Regions from separate parts of the Homo sapiens genome. Here region 2 is linked to region 1. Evidence: promoter capture Hi-C in human tissues and cell types (Jung and others, 2019). All regions are on one chromosome and are shown on one strand. The core of a region is centred on a gene start or on the middle of the fragment in contact, and the rest is flanking DNA. Distances in the headings are between cores, read along the strand shown.

Evidence for each region. The method cuts DNA at HindIII sites, captures the fragments that hold promoters and counts their contacts. A contact is called where the count stands out against the background at its distance.
Region 2: a fragment that was not itself captured here is called in contact with the fragment with the promoter of TANGO6 in region 1 in 1 of the 25 tissues and cell types used here (stomach).

Annotation. Positions count from the first base shown.
Region 1 is chr16:68,840,637-68,847,259 of GRCh38, reverse strand. It overlaps TANGO6 (transport and golgi organization 6 homolog), which reads right to left and starts at 3,729. Exons shown (of 18, transcript NM_024562.2): 1 at 3,549-3,729. The coding sequence starts at 3,642. RefSeq lists an enhancer at 3,489-3,758. The HindIII fragment of the contact is 20,381 bases long and covers 1-6,623 here.
Region 2 is chr16:69,537,474-69,543,539 of GRCh38, reverse strand. No RefSeq gene overlaps it. Among named protein-coding and RNA genes, the nearest start is that of MIR1538, 25 kb to the left of the region's middle. The HindIII fragment of the contact is 5,842 bases long and covers 1-5,729 here.

The DNA of each region.
Region 1 (6,623 bases), core at 2,480-4,979:
TGTACTATGAGGCTTATTGATATGAGTTCTGATTTCATATTGCAACAAATCTTTAATATATTACCTCTTTGGCCGGGCGCGGTGGCTCACGCCTGTAATCCCAGCACTTTGGGAGGCTGAGGTGGGCAGATCACTTGAAGTCAGGAGTTCGAGACCAGCCTGACCAACGTAGAGAAACCCCATCTCTACTAAAAATACAAAATTAGCAGGGCGTGGTGGCGCATGTCTGTAATCCCAGCTACTCCGAAGGCTGAGGCAGGAGAATCGCTTGAATCCGGGAGGCGGAGGTGGCAATGAGCCGAGATCACGCCACTGCATTCCATCCTGGGCAACAAGAGCGAAACTCCGCCACAAAAAAAAAAAAAAGGTATTACCTCTTGTTGAGTTTCTCGATACTTTTTTCCCCACACAATACATGCAGAGATTATCTTGTTGAGCTTTAGAATTGTATAAAAGACCGGACGTGGTGGCTCACATCTGTAATCCCAGCACTTCGGGAGGCCGAGGCGGGAGGATTACGAAGTCATGAGTTCCAGACCAGCCTGGCCAATATGGTGAAAACCTGTCTCTACTAAAAAAAAAAAAAAAAAAAGAAAATTAGCCAGGCACAGTGGCATGTGCCTGTTGTCCCAATTACTCGGGAGGCTGGGGCAGGAGAATTGCTTGAACCTGGGAGGCGGAGGTTGCAGTGAGCCGAGATCGCACCACTGCACTCCAGCTTGGGCGACAGAGCAAGACTCCGTCTAAAAAAAAAAAAGAAAGAATCGTATAAAAGAATGTACATAATTATTTGAAAAGGTGATTGAACTCTCCTCCCTTTTCCAGTTACATATCTATGTGAGTCTAGGTTTTCTTCATGTACTTCAGTCAAAACAACCTATCATGACAGACTGGAGAAGCAGATATGAAAATCCAGCTGACTTCTTGAGGTTGGGCATGGTGGCTCGCGCCTGTAATCCTAATCCTAGTACTCTGGGAGGTCAAGGCAGGCAGATCACCTGAGGTCAGGAGTTCGAGACTCGCCTGGCCAACATGGTGAAACGCCGTCTCTATTAAAAGTACAAAAAATTAGCCGGGCATGTGGCGCATGCCTGTAATCCCAGCTACTCGGGAGGCTGAGGTAGAAGAATCACTTGAACCTGGGAGGTGGAGGTTGCAGTGAGCTGAGATTGCGCCACTGCACTCCAGCCTGGGCAACAAGAGCGAAATTCCATCTCAAAAAATAATAAAAGTACAAAAATTAGCCAGGCATGGTGGTGGGTGCCTATAGTCCCAGCTACAAGGGAGGCTGAGGCATGAGAATTGCTCGAACCCGGGAGGTGGGGGTTCCGGTGTGTCAAGATCATGCCACTGCACTCCAGCCTGGGTGATGGAGTGAAACTCTGTCTCAAAAAAAAAACAAAAAACAAAAAACAAAATAGGGTCTTACTCTGTCACCCAAGGCCGGAGCACACTAGTGTAATCATGGTTCACCACAGCCTAGACTTGGACCTCTCAGGCTCAAGCAATCCTCCCATCTCAGCCTCCCCAGTAGCTGGGACCACAGGTGTGTAGTACCATGCCTGGCCAATTTTTTAGTTTTTTGTAGACACAGAGTATCACTATGTTGCCCAGTCTGGTCTCAAACTCCTGGGATCCTGCCTCAGCCTCCCAAAGTGCTGGGATTACAGGTATGGCCCACCTCGCCCAGCCACTACAGATATTTTTAAATTCCCTAAGCAGCTAATATGATAAAATAGTAGACAGATTCATATAATATATAAGACTACATGTACAAAATAATATAATTTCACGAACTAATTCCTCTTCAAATAGGAATGCTTGAATTTCTGTAAATTAAATGAGTACATATATGTGTACTCCACCACATACTCATAGAGATTAGAGAGTCTTCTATAAATGAAGCATAATATACATGTTTCATAACAGATGATTACTTTCAGGATTTTTGCTTATTTAAACGTGTTCTCAGTCATACAATAGAGAGTTGCAGGCCAGGTGTAGTGGCTCAGGCCTGTAATCCCAGCACTTTGGGAGGCCAAGGCAGGCAGATCACTTGAGGTCAGGAGTTCGAGACCAGCCTGGCCAACATGGCAAAACTCCGTCTCTACTAAAAAGACAAAAATTAGCTGGGCATGGTGGTGTGCACCTGTAATCCCAGCTACTCGGGAGGCTGAAGCAGGAGAATCGCTTGAACCTGGGAGGCAGAGGTTGCAGTGAGCCGAGATTGTGCCACTGCACTCCAGCCTGGGCAACAGAGTGAGACCTCATCTCAAAAAAAAAAAAAAAAAAGAGTTGCCGTTAGAAGACAAGTGACCTCTCGATTAGCAACTTAAAATTCTATTTTGCAGTCTGACTCTTAATTGAGACAATGTAGCATATTTACCATACTTTTAGTGGAAATAACCTAAATTCAAATTCTGCCACTTACTAGTCTGACATTGGGCAATTTCCAATGTACCTGAACCTTGGTCCTTCATCCGTAAAAATTGAATACAAGTAGTACCGATCCCAGGGGATCGTAATGAGGATTAAATGATGTGTATGTCAACAGCCTACTATGGGGACTGATACTTAGTAGGCACTCATTTACTAATATTAGTAACTTGTGTTCACTTCCCGCTGGTGTGGTGTAATGTTTGCAGAAGTTTTTGCAGTTTTAAGTATAAAATCTGAGACTGGGAGGTGATCCCCTTTGGCCTTTCATGTGCCCTTGCTAATTCTACAGATCCCTTCCCATCCCTTCCCCCAAATATACACCCCAGTGATAAGCAGAGCTCTATCTTCCACGTCCTTTCCAAAAGCTCCAGATAACATCAGAGCCCCTATACTGAACAATTTGTCTGATTCTGAGAAGGGGGTTCAGTAGATCTCGGGCCTAGGTCCGTGTTCTGCCCCTAATTTGACCACGTGATCTTGGACAGGTTACTTAATTTCTTCAGTGAGCCTTGGGTGTCCTCAGTCGCAAAAGGAGTAGCAGCTTCAACCACTCCCAATATCCCTTCAGATTTTAGACTGGGAAGAAACTGTCCACGCACCACAAAGATTAAAAGCGCCTGGTAACCCCTAAATACTCTCCCCAAACCCATTTCAAACGTCACTGCTTCCGATGTCTGGACTTCTTGGCATTTCGTACAAATCTCAAGGGTCCATGCTGGCCCCTGCGCCCTCACGCGGCTAGGACCTCACATTTCTACGTCGCGGGCGCCCTACCCTCTCTGGAGCTGGGTCCATATCCCCCTCCCAAGAGCGCTGCAGTAAGCACTGAATGAAATAACGGCCCCGCCTGACAGAGCCCAGCACAAGGCAAATGCTCAAGAGATGTTGGCTAATATCAGCAGTCAACGGATCCCGCGCCCTCCTTGAGCCTCAGTTTCCTCAAGAACGTAATGAGGACGGGCATAGACAATGCTCAAAGCCCCCAGCAGCGGGCGGAGGGTCCCGAGGCGGGCCTAAGGGGCGCACGCTGCGGAAGGCAGGGCAGCCCCGGAAGCCGGGCGGCCCTGAGAGTCCCGGGTCCAGCCCGGCGCGGAGATGCGTCCTCTCACCTCCCGGGCTCAGCAGCAGCTTCAATGCCTCCAAAATCCGATCCAGACCGCATGTCTCCTGAGCCCCGCTGCCCACGGCCTGTCGGGCCGCCATGACTGGAGTGTAACACCACGCTCGCGACCCGCTCAGGCGCCTCGGCAGGGCGCCGCCGCCGCCATGTTAAGTGTGGCAGAAGGCTCTGGGCACACTATGGGGCGGGGCCAAATCGATCGGGAACGCCCCCTTCACATTTTTTTTCCGTCCCGGCTTAGTCCGGGGGGTAAGAGGGAACCCAAAAATGGCTAATCTGCCCACGCGCACAATTTCAGAAGCTCAATATGATTAACCGCTATGTAAAGAAGGAAGAGAGAAGTAATGTATCATTAAAGCTATATTTCAATATGAAAATACTCAGGTACTCAACACTGGCAGACATAATGAAGCAGACAGATGCTTCCATCTGCTTACAGTGAAGTATGGATAAGAAAAACAATATTCAGGCTGGGCGCGGTGGCTCACACCTGTAATCGCAGCACTCTGGGAGGCCGAGGCGGGCAGATCACAAGGTCAGGAGTTTGAGACCAACCTGTCCGATATGGTGAAACCCCGTCTCTACTAAACATACAAAAATTAGCCAGGCGTGGTGGCGGGCGCCTGTAGTCCCAGCTACCCGGGAGGCTGAGGCAGGAGAATCGCTCGAAGCTGGGAGGTCGAGGTTGCAGTGAGCCGAGATCACACCACTGCACTCCAGCCTGGGCGACAGAGCGAGACTCCATCTCAAAACAAACAAACAAACAAAACCTAAGTACAGACGTACACACGCATATATATCCATCGTGAATGTAAAGCTACAAATGTTGTTATGGGTAATATGATTTTTTTTTTCAGTGAACTTAGTAAAGTTCCCAGTAAAAGTTCGATCTGTGTTCTGTTTTCATGGTTGATGCATTCCTCGAAAATTCAGGGTCTATCAAAACCATGCCCTCCGCCAAACTGTTTTTATATGTAAAACAGAATGGATTTGAGATTCAGATTATCGGAAACAGGTTTTCACCTACATAAATCCTGGTGGGACGTTGAAAAACCATGTTGTCTGAAAGTCATGCCGCAGACACAGGACAATGTTTTTGAGGGCAGGACCTTTATTTTTATTTTATTTTTTGAGATGGGGTCTCGCTCTGTCGCCTAGGCTGGAGTTCAGTGGCGTGATCTCGGCTCACTGCAACCTCTGCCTCCCAGGCTGAAACAATTATCTGGCCTCAGCCCCCCGAGTAGCTGGGATTACTGGAGTGCCCCAGCATGCCCGGCTAATTTTTGTATTTTTTGTGGAGACAAGGTTTCGCCCTCTTGGCTAGGCTGGTCTTGAGCTCCTCACCTCAAGTGACCTGCCCACCTGGGCCTCCCAAAGTGCTGGGATTACAGGCGTGAGCCACTGCGCCCGGCCCAAAGGACAAACTTCTTAATGGTCCGGTCCTTGGGCGAGAATAAGCTGCGCATAGCTATTACCCTTTTTGGCATGACTCTTGTTTCTTCTTTTCTTTGTCATTTTGGAATGCAGGGCCTGAGAGGGAAAAACGCTAAAAATTTTTTTTTAGAGATGGAGTCTCTATGTTGCCCAGACTTGTCTCAAACTCCTGGCCTCAAGTGATCCTCCTGCCTCAGCCTTCCGAATAAAATCTTGTGTGTGTGTGTGAGACAGAATCTCACTGTCACCCGGGCTGAAGTGCAGTGGTGTGATCTTGGCTCACTCCAACTTCTGCCTCCCCTGCTCAAGTGATCCTCCCGCCTCAGCCTCCCAAGTAGCTGGGACTACAGATGCATGCCACCACACCCGGCTAATTTTTGTAGAGATGGCGTTTCACCATGTCACCCAGGCTGGTCTCAAACTCCTGGGCTCAAGCAATTTGCCCATTTCGACCTTCCAAAATACTGAAATTGCAGGCGTGAGCCACCGGTTCTGGCCTTAAAAATATTTTTGAATGGGAAATAAATCACCTACAAAATTGCCACTGTGCTCTTTTTATTTTGTGTATTCCTTTCCAGGTTTTGTCATTAGACAATGTTTTCTCCATTGTGTATGGGCACAGGTTCATTTGGGAAATAAAAAATTTTAAGAGTATTTTGAGATGTTAAACATTTAGTGAGACGGGGGTAAAGCACTGTGTGGGGAAGGCTTGAGGGGTTTGGTGCAAAAGTACAGGTAGAGGCCCTCACGCCGCCAGCCTAAATGTTTCAGTGTTAGAAATCAAGCGAAGAGACTGGTAACTAAAATATTTTCTATCCTCCTACCTTGAAAATTCTATCAAGTTTGAATTCAAAATTCTCAGACTGTCTCAGAGCTCCACAATGGAGACCTCTGGTCTGACCCATTTTTCTTCTCACCAGCATCTCCATCCTGCACCATGAAGGCTGGGCACTTAGATGTGTGGGCACCCACAGCCCTGCACATTCAGGTTCTGTCCACACCCCACACCCCATCCCTTCCACAGAGCAGCTACCATTTGGCCCCTCTGGGTCTAGAACTGCAGATGGGGGCCGGGCGCGGTGGCTCACACCTGTAATCCCAGCACTTTGGGAGGCAGAGGCGGGTAGATCACAAGGTCAAGAGATTGAGACCATCCTGGCCGACATGGCGAAACCCCATCTCTACTAAAAATACAAAAATTCACTGGGCATAGTGATGTATGCCTATAGTCCCAGCTACTCGGGAGGCTGAGGCAGGAGAACCTCTTGAACCTGGGAGGCGGAGGTTGCAGTGAACCGAGGTCGCGTCACTACACTCCAGCCTGGTGACAAAGGGAGACTTTGTCTCAAAAAAATAAAAAACAAAACAAAACTTCAGACGGGGAGCACAGTGCACCATCCAGAGGGCAGACCCAGGGAAGAGTCCTGCAAAGCCCTAGAAGAAGGCCTGGGATGGTTGGGCAGGGAATTCCAGGGCCTCAGAATCCAGAGTGTGGGCCGGGTGTGGTGGTTTATTCCTGTAATCCCAGCACTTTGGGAGGCTGAGGTGGGAGGATTTCTTTTGCCCAGGAGTTTGACACCAGGCTGGGCAACATAGGGAGACCCTGTCTCTATAAAATAAATACAAAAAT
Region 2 (6,066 bases), core at 1,559-4,058, 700 kb before region 1:
GAGGTATGGGGAAAAGGGCAGAGTTTCCATGTCCTCTCTGGGGTGCCACCCTCCAGGAACCTCCATGTGTCCAGCTAATCAGAAGGTCTCTGAACCCTGTCTTTTTGGGTTTTTATGGAGGCTTCATTACATAAGCATGATTGATTAAGCCATTGGACATTGGCGATCAACTTAACCCTCAGCCCCTTACCCCTCCCCAGAAGTTGAAGGGTGGGGCTGAAAGTCCCAATCCTCTAATCATGCCTGGGTCTTTCTGGGACCAGCTCACATCCTGAAGCTACCTAGAGGCTGCCAAGTCACCAGTCAACTTATTAGCAGACTAAAACACACATCACTTTGAAGGATTTTAGGAGTTGTATGTCAGCAAATTGGATGAAGACCAAACACATATTTCACAATATCACATTACTATTATTATCATCTTACAGATGAGAGGACTGAAGTTTTATTCTCCTATACAGCTCAGGATTCCCATTCCTCAAGAGGGACATTAAGATGCAAAACAACAGGTATACTATCAATATATTATACATCTAAACAACTCTATATGATCACTATATATTGAAACAACAGCTATATAAGCTGGGCATGGTGGTGCTAACCTTAGTCCCAGTCCTCAGGAGGTTGAGGCAGGAGAGTTGCTTGAGCCCAGGGGTTTGTGTACAGCCTGGACAGCATAGTGAGACCCCATATCAAAAAACAAACCTATAAATATGGGTAATTAAAAAAAACACTCAAAAGAATACTACATACTGTTTTATATAAAATATATGTACCTTGTGGCTCATGCCTGTAATCCCAGCAGTTTGGGAGGCTGAGGCGGGTGGATCACCTGAGGTCAGGAGCTTGAGACAAGCCTGGCCAACATGGCGAAACCCTGTCTCTACTAAAAATACAAAAATTAGCTGGGTGTGGTGGTGGGCGCCTGTAATCCCAGCTACTCAGGAGGCTGAGGCAGGAGAATTGCTTGAACCCAGGAGGCAGAGGTGCAGTGACCCGAGATTGCGCTACTGCACTCCAGCCTGGGCAACAGAGCAAGACTCCGTCTCAAAAAAAAAAAAAAAAATATATATATATATATGTATATCTTTATATGAATGTTTATGATTTATGTACATATATACACTCTATACATACTTTTTTTTTTAGAAATGGAAGTAAAAATTTCAGCCTCATTGTAGGGGATGGTGGTTAAATCTGTCTTTGGATTTATCTGCAATATTTCAGGGCTTTTTTGTTTTGTTTTTTGTTTTACAAAGGTAGAAACAAATAAAACACTGGTAGCAAATATGACAAAATGTTAATGATTATTTCTAGATGGTGAAAATATGGGTGTGATTTTTTTAAAAAGTCTTTGTGCTTTTCTGTATTTTAAAAATTTCTTGAGGCCGGGTGCAATGGCTCATGCCTGTAATCCCAGCACTTTGGGAGGCCGAGGCAGGTGGATCACCTGAGGTCAGGAGTTTGAGACCAGCCAACATGGTGAAACCCCATCTCTACTAAACATACAAAAATTAGCTGGGTGTGGTGGCACATGCCTGTAATCCCAGCTACTCGGGAGGCTGAGGCAGGAGAATCGCTTGAACCCAGAAGATAGAGGTTGCAGTGAGCTGAGATCGCGTCATTGCACTCCAGCCTGGGCGACAAGAGCGAAACTCCATCTCAAAAAAAAAAATCTCAAAATATAAAAGATTTTCTGAAGAAAAAATGGGTCTGGGTATAGTGGCTCATACCTGGAATCCCAGCATTTTGGGAGGCTGAAGCGGGAGGATCGCTTAAGCCCAGGAGTTCAAGACCAGCCTGGACAACATAGGGAGACCCTGTCTCTTCAAAAATAAAAAAAAAATTATTTTCATGCTAGGCATGGTGGCACACTCCTGTAGTCCCAGCTACTCAGGAGGCTGAGGTGGGAGGATCACTTGAGCCCAGGAGGTGGAGGCTGCAATGAGCAGTGATTACTCCAGCCTGAACAACAGAGCAAAACTGTCTCAAAAAAAAAAAAAAAAAGAGAAGAAGGAGAAGGAGGAGGAGGAGACAGAGATGGAGATGAAGACGAAGAAGAAGAAAAAATGGGAAGGAACTACACCAAAATAGTAATAGTGATCATCCTTTTATTCTTCCTTCTGCTTTTCTATAATTTCCAAAGTTTTCATAATAAGCAAATCTGTAATGGGAGGGAAAACACTAGATCTTTCTGTTTTGTTCGGAAGTTTTGTTTTTAGCAAACTTAATCCTAATACCTGGAGGTTAGTTAATGTCAGTATAGAATCAACACTCAGTAACAAGTATCTGCAATTAAATAGGTGATAGAAAAGCCCACATTTTTTTTTATTCTTTTTTTTTTTTTTTTTTTGAGTCAGAGTCTCGCTCTGTCGCCCAGGCTGGAGTGCAGTGGCATGATCTCGACTCACTGCAATCTCCACCTCCCAGGTTTAAGCAGTTATCTCACCTCAGCCTCCCGAGTAGCTAGGATTACAGGCACGTGCCACCATGCCTGGCTAATTTTTGTATTTTTAGTAGAGATGGGGTTTCGCCATGTTGGCCAGGCTGGTCTCGAACTCCTGGCCTCAAGTGATCCGCCCACCTCGGCCTCCCAAAGTGCTGGGGTTACAGGCAAGAGCCACAGCACCCAGCCAAGCCCACATTTTTCTAACAATATTTCCCCACCCAGATAAGTGGATTAAAGCCCTCTCCTAAGATTTAAATCATGTGAACATGAGTAATGGACAAAATATCAAGGTCTATTGTAAACTTAATTTCTAAAGAGTAGAATATATATTTGCCTGCATATGTGTATATTCTAAAATACTGAATTGTGGTTCCTGCCCCAAGACAACTGACACATTCAAACTAGTAGAAATGAGGTATTTGCTGGAATTAGATAGTTTCTCTTACAATTATTATTAATTGCATTGATATTAACAACTGGGTAACAGCAGGTGTGAATGGGTAAAATGACTCTAAGTCACAACCACATGGGGGAAGTTAGAAAAACTGTGCAGCATGGAAACCTTTTTACTTTTTTGCTATCTGGGCAAGCAAAGCTTGGGTTTCCAAGTTTAGTGACAGATTTATTTTAATGTAATTAAATAATTGGAGTTTTCCACTGCCAGAAACTTTTATCCACTTTATTACTTAGAGGATTAAAAGAAAATTTGATCTGATGTTTTATAGAGCTTTCTCTTCCCAGGGACCCAGAGAGGGGACAACTGGGAACATATGACCCTGGATATTATCTGTTTCCATTGCATCTGACTGAGCACAGCATAGACTAGATGATTGCCAAAAGTTTAAAGTCAGTCTCTCACCTCTATTGTTCCAGAAGAATTGGGTTTTATGCTGGAGGAAGAAACCTTAGAAATCACTGAATCCTTGTTTTACAAATTATGGCACTCTCCTGGCAGAACTAATAAAATTACACTTATGCATATACTGTGATGTAATTTCCCTCTTAAGAGCTAACAAGGAGGAGCCTAATGCTATGGTTTGACTGTGTCCCCCAAATTTCAGGTGTTCAAAATTTAATCCAAATTTGCATGTTGATTGGGGCTTTAGTGAGGTAGTTAAGATTAGATAAGATTATCTTGGTGGGGTCCCCAGAGTGGGACTGGTGGTTTTATAAGAAGAGGAAGAGGCCGGGCACGGTGGCTCACACCGCCTGTAACCCCAGGACTTTGGGAGGCAAAGGCGGGTGGATCATGAGGTCAGGAGATCAAAACCATCCTGGCTAACATGGTGAAACCCCGTCTCTACTAAACATACAAAAAATTAGCTGGGCGTAGTGGCAGGTGCCTGTATTCCCAGCTACTCAAGAGGCTGAGGCAGGAGAATGGCATGAACTCAGTGGGCAGAGCTTGCAGTGAGCCAAGATTGCGCCACTGCACTCCAGCCTGGGTGACAGGGCGAGACTCTGTCTCAAAAAAAAAAAAAGAAGAGGAAGAAAGATCTGAGCACACACACACACTCTTCTCTTCTTGCCATGTGATGCCCTCTACCATGTTATGAAGAAGCAAGAAGGCATCACCAGAGGCTAGAGCCATGCTCTTAAACTTCCCAGCCTCCAGAACTGTAAGCTAAATAGTTTTTTTCTTTATAAATTACCCAGACTGTGATATCCTGTTATAGCAACAGAAAATGGACTAAGACCTCTAAGGAGACAATACAGAGATGTTCATTGCAGCATTGTTTGTAACAACAACAACAAAAAAAACCTGAAACAGCCAAAATATCCATCAGTAGGAGAATGGCTACCAAAACATAAAATAGTCATACCACAAAGCACTATGCAGTAGATAAAAGAAATGAGCTAGATCTAACAGGACAGATGTCGAAAGCAGAATGAGTGAAACAGCCAAGTTACAGAACCTGTGAAACATATATTTGTATAAAAACTCATGCAACAAAACTATTTTACATGGGTATAATATATGTAATATGATCTTGAATGTAAAAATCTTCTAAAAGGTCTAGACCTGTGCTAATACAGTAGCTACTAGCCACATGTGGCTATTTAAATTAAATGAATTAGTCACACTAGCCATATTTTGAGAGTCCATTAGTAACTATGGCTAGTGGCTTCTGTTTTGGACTACACAGATATATAACATTTCCATAATTGTAGGATGTTCTACTGGACAATGCTGATCTAGACAAATACATGCCAAATTCATAAGATCACTTAGCTGGGTAGTGGTAAAACCAAAGCTGGTGTCAGACGACTACTATTGATGTATTCTTGGCATGAGGGCCCATTTGGGTCATGGATGAATGGATGGATGAATGGATGGATGAATGAATGGATGGATGGACTCATTCGTTCATTCATTTACAAAGTATTCATTCATTTGGAATCATTTGCTTACTATATGTAAAATGGTTTCAGCCCTTGGGAAACAAAATGTAATCTGATGCTATCCCAGGCCCAGAGGACAGAATAGGCAGGTGTCAGTCATCATCTACGCACCAAATACCTTTTCCGTCACAGACTCTGTGTGAGGACTGGGTTCAGTGGCAAACAAAAAGATATAATCCCTCTTCTTGTGGAATGCACAATCTGCAGTAGGGTTTCTCAACACTGTGGACATCTTGGATGGCTCATTCTTTCTTCTGGGGGCTGTCTTATACATTCTATCTTTTCTTTCTTTTTCTTTTTTTTTTTTTTTTGGAGACGGAGTTTCTGTCTTGTCGCCCAGGCTGGAGTGCAATGGCACCATTTCGGCTCACTGCCACCTGTGTCTCCCAGGTTTAAGCAGTTCTTCTGCCTCAGTCTCCTGAGTAGCTGGGATTACAGGTTCATGCCACCATGCCTGGCTGATTTCCGTATTTTTAGTAGAGGTGGGGTTTTACCTTGTTGGCCAGGCTGGTCTCAAACTCCTGGCCTCAGGTGATCCACCCACCTCGGCCTCCCAAAGTGCTGGGATTATAGGCATGAGCCACTGTGCCTGGCCTAGTCTTGTACATTTTAAAATGTTTAGCAGAATCCCTGATCTCTATCCACTAAATGCCAAAAACATCCCTCCATCCTGCCTCCCTCCAGTTGTGACAACCAAAGATATCTTTAGACATTGCAAATGTTCCCTGGGGACAAAATTGTCCCTATTGAGAACCACAAGGAAATACGGACATTAATCAAATTATAACAAATTATTTAAATGATGACAAGTGTGCTGACTGCTGTGATAGGGATGTGTGGGATTCTTTGAAAGCTTTAACAAGGGGCCTGACCTAATCTTTAAGGGGTAGATGAGAAAAGCTTCCCTGGGGATGTGACGACATTGCCTCCTCTTTTAGCCAAACATGGACAGAACTTGCCTGCAATGGACACAATTCTGTATAAACAGGTGTATGCCATGATCTTGGAGAAAGGAAGTGAGACATCAGGTTCCTTTAGGAGAGGTAAGGTAGGCTGGCTTTGATGCATAATTATCCATTTCAGATGCTGCTATCTAAAGCACACTCAGCTGGCACAGCCTGGGCAAGCGGCCATGAACTTAAGACTAAACCAGCTAGTAAGAAATGGAGACCAGCTGTAGATCCTGTCTTCCTCACCAGAGATCTGGAGGTCAT